2 separate regions of the Homo sapiens genome follow, and region 2 is linked to region 1. The links are contacts of gene promoters, found by promoter capture Hi-C in human tissues and cell types (Jung and others, 2019). All regions are on one chromosome and are shown on one strand. The core of a region is centred on a gene start or on the middle of the fragment in contact, and the rest is flanking DNA. Distances in the headings are between cores, read along the strand shown. Region 1 holds the start of TEAD3 (TEA domain transcription factor 3). Region 2 overlaps MAPK14 (mitogen-activated protein kinase 14).

Region 1 (2,799 bases), core at 1-2,500:
GACCCCAGCAGCCCCTCAGCGCCCCCAGAGCCCGTCAGCGTGGGGGAAAGGATTCAGTGGAGGCTGGCAGGGTCCCTCCAGCAAAGCTCCCGCGGAAAACTGCTCCTGTGTCGGGGCTGACCTCTCACTGCCTCTCGGTGACCTCCGTCCTCTCCCCAGCCTGGCACAGGCCGAGGCAGGAGGAGCCCGGACGGCGGGTAGGACGGAGATGAAGAACATCTGGAGTTGGAGCCGCACATCTGGTCTCGGAGCTCGCCTGCGCCGCTGTGCCCCCCTCCTCCCCGCGCCCCAGTCACTTCCTGTCCGGGAGCAGTAGTCATTGTTGTTTTAACCTCCCCTCTCCCCGGGACCGCGCTAGGGCTCCGAGGAGCTGGGGCGGGCTAGGAGGAGGGGGTAGGTGATGGGGGACGAGGGCCAGGCACCCACATCCCCAATAAAGCCGCGTCCTTGGCCAAGCGGAGCGGTGGTTCCTCAGCGCGTGCGGAGAACGAGGCGGCAGGAGGCGTCCGAGGCGCGAGCTGGAAGTCTCAACCCCCGTCCCACTCCTGCCCAGGCCCCGGGCGCTCCCGCGTCCCCTCCCCGCGCCCGTCGCGGGTCCTACCGAAACTCGGCGGCCGCACAGCGTCGAGACGCCCCCCGTGGGGGCCCGGGGAGCCGGGGCGAAAGGGAGGGTCCCGGAGGTCGGGGAAGAGGGAGAAAGGGAGAAGAAATTCGAGAAACTAGCCACGCGGGGAGAACCAGACAAACCGGGTCCCGGCAGGGCGGGCGCAGCCGCCAGGGCGGAGCCGGGTCTGGGGCCCCGGGAGTGGGGGGCAGGCCCGCGAGCTGGAGGGTACGCTCCGCCTTGGCGGCTCGGGACTAGGGTGGAGGGGCCGGGAGCCCCGGGGCCCGTGCGCTCCGGCTCTGCCGGGCTCCTCGTGACGCGGCACCCACGGCCCCCGGCACCGACGGGAGCCCTGCCCGCGAGGCGAGGGCTCCGCCCTCGGCCCCGCCCCAGGCCGGAGCCCCAAATTCCGGCGGGTGCCCGGGAGCGGGGCGAGGCCCGGAGCGCAGGGGGAGGAAGGCAGCTCCGCACGGGCGGGCGAGGAGCGGGGCGCCCAGGCGCGCGCCAGCCGGGGTGGCCGGGTCGCGAGGCCGCGGGGTAGGCGGCCCGAGCGCGGCTGGACGGCCCCGCCCCTCCCGGCCAGCACCGCCCCCTGCGCGCCCCGCCCCCTCCTTCCCGCAGCCCCCACCCCCGCCCCGGCTCCTCAACACAAACTTTCCGTCCCGCTCGCTCCCTCCTCCGCGCTCGGCGCCTCCCGCTCCAGCCCGGCTCATTCCGCACATTCCGGCCAGCCCCCTCCCCACGACCCCCCTTCCCCGGCCCCCCTTGCGGCTCCCTCGGGCCCGGCGGAGCGGCCCGGCCGGAGCGCCCCCGCGAGCTCGGACCAGGTAAGCCGGGCGGACGCCGGGAGGAGGCCCCGCTCGGGAGAGGTGGTTTGGTTGGTCGGCTGGGCTGGCTGGGGGGGCGACACTCGAGGGGGACTGGGTCCCCGAGCTATTGTCCAGCCGGAGCTGGAGCCCCGGATCGGGGTGCCGGGAAGTTTAGAGGGAAGGGGGAAAATCTCTCCGGGAAGCCCCGCCCCCCGCCCTCCCCACCCCCCCGCGACGGGGACGAGTTGGTCCGGGAAGGTGGGGAAGCCGGGGAGACCGTGTCCCCTGTGCCGTCGCCTGTCCCGCCGTCCGTGCTTGGGGGGTCGGGGCGGGGATCCGGGGGCCGCACAGTGTGGAGGGCCTGCCTGCCACCCTGGAGCTCATATCCGGGGCGCCCAGTCCCGGGCCCCGCCGCCCTTTGGACTCCCGGCCCGCGCGCTCCCGGAGCCCGCCCGGCCTCAGCTCCACGCAGGCCTCGGGCCCGGCCTCCCAGCGCCCAGGCCGGTTTCTGCGCGCGGTGCCGCGGCTGCGCTGGGTTGTGGAGGGTGTCTGGGACCAAAGCCGCGCGCCCCGGCCGTGTGTCCCCTGAGAGGCAGGGAGGGGCTCACGTTCCCTTCAGTTCTGCCGCCTGCGTCGGGGTGCTGATTCAGAGTTCCAGCCCTGAGCGCTGTGAGCTTGGCTCGGAGGGGTCTGGATTTGGGGCCTTTTCTTCCCCACACTTGCTCAGGGCCCTTGTTTAGACTTGACAAGGTTTGAGGGTGGCTGGTCTCCCGCTTCCTACCCCGGTCCCCACCATTGTCTGTCATGCCCTTTATTCCTGCTAGGGGAGGGAGGGCTGGGAGCGCTGGTCTGGATCTGTTTTCCAGCCCAGCTGGGCCCTGGGGCAGTGTCATTGAGACCCCGCTCTGTCAACTTTCCTGGTGAGGGGCCCTGATCCAGGGCTGAGAGATTCTTTCAGTGCGAGGGGGAAGGAGGCCTTGGGGCGGACTTCTCAGGGGCTGTCTTCTTCTGTGTCTTCCCTCTTTCCAGGTAGGGGCAGAACCAGGTCAGGCCTGGACTTGTTGTCCGGAAGAACAGGGCATAGGGGTAGGGGCTGGACACAGCTCAGAGGGGCTGGTGCCCATAGCGGCTCTGCGTATCCAGTCTCTTGTGGCCTGGTTCTCTGTACACATGTTCCACCCCAGTGCTGGGGCCACCTGGGGCAAGGAGGGGAGGCTTTCCTCAAAAGTTGGAGATTTGGGGGAATTATGTCCTCTCCCTTCTAGACTCCTGTAGCCCCCCTCCCACCAAGACCCCTCTCGTAGGGGCACTCCCTAAAGGATGTGGTTCTGTGGTCTTCTGGGTCCCTGCTCACCCAGTGGGCAGAGTGCACAGATCTTCCAGGAC
Region 2 (2,799 bases), core at 129-2,628, 540 kb before region 1:
ATGCAGAAAGTATAGCATTTCTGCCTTTTTGCAGGTGGAAGGTTCATGTTATCCCATCTAGTTTTTACTCAATCAAATATACAGGGTTATCAATCCAAATATATAGGGTTATATAAGTGGTTCTCAACTAAAGGTGATTTTGCCCTCCCTACCCGTCAAGAGATATGTGGCAATGTCTAGACATTTTTGGTTGTCACAACTGGGAATTGCTATTAGTATACAGTGAGTTGGAGACAGGGATGCTGCTAAACATACTACACTGCACAGGTCAGTCCCCCACAACAAAACATTATCCCACCTAAAGTGTCAATAGGTTGAATTACCCTGGGTTATACAGGTTGAGTATCCCTAATCTGAAAATCCAAAACCTAAAATGCTTCAAGATCCAAAACTACAGAGGACTTCCAAAGCCATCTATGAGGAAACATAAATATGTCTCCTCTGGACTGATACTTTCTTTTTTTTTTTTTTTTTGAGACTGAGTCTTGCTCTATCGCCCAGACAGGAGTGCAGGGGAGTGATCTCGGCTCACTGCAACCTCCGCCTCCCGGGTTCAAGTGATTCTTGTGCCTCAGCCTCCTGAATAGCTGGGATTACAGGCACACACCACCATGCCCAACTAATTTTTGTAGAGATGGGGTTTCACCATGTTGGCCAGGCTGATCTCAAACTCCTGACCTCAAGTGATCCGCCCACCTTGGCCTCCCAAAGTGCTGGGATTACAGGCGTGAGCCACTGCACCCAGCCTGGACTGATACTTTCGAAAGGAGGGACCCTTCTTTTTTTTAAAATCTCTGTAAACAAAATATCTAGTATAGTGCACTGGAAATATTAAATTAATGAACTTACGAAAACAAAGAACAAAACTGGTATGCTTTTTTTCTTCACATGCTCAGATTGTGTGGTGTCTACATTTTAAGCCATAAGTTTGAAAATGCAATCAATACACACTTTTGAGTAGAATGACAGTAAGACACACATACTCACACACACACACACCTTCCTTCATATCACAGGCACAGTGACAATATCACCAAGGCCTAAGAGAAGTAAGTTTTGAGGAAAATAAGGAATTTGTAACCACATATTCAAATAACAGGAGCCAACATGTTCAGGGTCTAATGGTACTCAGACAGCAGGTCTAGACAAAATAAACATTTGTTCTATTACCTTTTTGTTATGTTGCCATGGGAATCTATGTTTGCAGGAAAACTTATTTTCTGCAACCTGATGATAGAGCAGTAAAAGAGGGGGAGCTCTGATGAAAAGAGGAGAGGGGTTTACATCTGTAAAGGCAGGGAGGACAATAAATAATATGGGTTTTTATAGGATCACATGTCTGTAGATAATCTTTCAATCTATATGATATATTTAAGTTTAACAGAGAAGTCCTTGGGGCCTCAAAGCTAAGACATTAATGACAGATAACAATGGTCTAACCTCTACTAAAAGTATTATAATGGGGAAAAGGCAGAGGAATGTAAAGCAGAAAAAGGGTCAAATAAAATCAAATAAAACTTAAATGTTTAACTGTTGAAAGAAGGTAAAAATGACTTTTAAAACATGATCCAAAAGTAAGAAAAACCCTAAAAGCCAAAGAAGTTAAAAAACACTCAATCTGCCAGCAGACTAATCTTCCTTTTTCAGCTAAACTCAAGAGCTAATCTCTGCTCCTTCCTTTTGGCAACAAAAACCTGAAAAAGTAAAGTCAGCCCATGTTATTTAAAGAGCTGGACTGGAATACCCTAAATTTCTAGGGCCCAACAAAAATACTGGCTCTGGCACTCTGGGACTGCTGGAATGAGAGTTGTGAGCATGGGTCAGGGCTTGCACCAATTCATCTAACTCCACCGTTCTATCCTATTCACAGTAGTGGTTTAGGGTAGAATGGGTAAGGAACCGAAACGAAAAACTTGGGACCCTAGAGCACAGTAATCTGTTAAAACAAGATTTAGGTCATGTCCTTCCTCTGGTCATAACCCTCCAAGGCTTCCCCTCTCACTTAAAGGAAAAGTCACAGTCTGTACAAAGGCAAATAAGACCCTACATGATCCCTGCATATCTGCAACCCTCTCCTCACCCCACTTTTCTCCCTATATTTGGCCCCTGGTTCATTTAGCTCTAGCTGTACTGGTCTCTTAGCTATTTCCTGGAGCACAGGGCCCTTACCTCAGGGCTTTTGCACACTTGCTAATCCTCAGCCTAGAATGTTATCACATCCTCACCCATGTCCAACCAGTGTCCTATATCACCTTCTTCAGGTTTTTGCTCAATTGTTACTTTATCAATGATGCTTACCGTATTCACCTTTCTTAAAAGTGCAACAGCCATCCTAGCACTCACTCTCCTTCCCTTCTTGCATTTTCTCCACAGCACTTATCTGACACACTATATATTTTGTTTATTATCTACTTCCACTGCCATCCCCATTAGAATATAGCTTCCTTTTTTTTTTCTTTTTGGAGACAGGGTATCACTCTGTCACCCAAGCTGGAGTACAGTGGCAGGATCACAGCTCACTACAGCCTCAACTTCCCAGGCTCAAGCAATCCTCTTAGGCTCAAGCAATCCCTCCACCTCAGCCTCCCAAGTAGTTGGAACTACAGGAGTGTGCCACCAAGCATCCCTAATTTTTTATTTTTATTTTTTAGTAGAGGAGCCTCCCCATTTTTCCCAGGATGCTGGTTTCTAACTACTGGGCTCAAGGAAACCTACCTTGGCCTCCCAAAGTGCAGGAATTACAGGTGTGAGCCACTCACTGCACCTGGCCAGAATATAGCTTCTTAAGGCAGAAATTTT

Evidence for each region. Contacts are between HindIII fragments. The study calls those that stand out against the background at their distance.
Region 2: a contact is called between a fragment that was not itself captured here and the fragment with the promoter of TEAD3 in region 1, in 1 of the 25 tissues and cell types used here (spleen).

What each region holds. Positions count from the first base shown.
Region 1 is chr6:35,495,530-35,498,328 of GRCh38, reverse strand. TEAD3 (TEA domain transcription factor 3) reads left to right here and starts at 1,250. Exons shown (of 13, transcript NM_003214.4): 1 at 1,250-1,431. TULP1 (TUB like protein 1) reads left to right here. Exons shown (of 15, transcript NM_003322.6): 15 at 1-455. The coding sequence ends at 2. It overlaps LOC124901309 (a long non-coding RNA gene), which reads right to left and starts at 196. Exons shown (of 2, transcript XR_007059561.1): 1 at 122-196. RefSeq lists enhancers at 1-343, 344-1,274, 2,221-2,799 and silencers at 743-1,072, 1,083-1,212, 1,393-1,442. The HindIII fragment of the contact is 31,199 bases long and covers 1-2,799 here.
Region 2 is chr6:36,037,671-36,040,469 of GRCh38, reverse strand. All of the region lies in intron 1 of MAPK14 (mitogen-activated protein kinase 14), which reads right to left. Among named protein-coding and RNA genes, the nearest start is that of MAPK14, 11 kb to the right of the region's middle. RefSeq lists a silencer at 1,800-1,849. The HindIII fragment of the contact is 3,983 bases long and covers 1-2,799 here.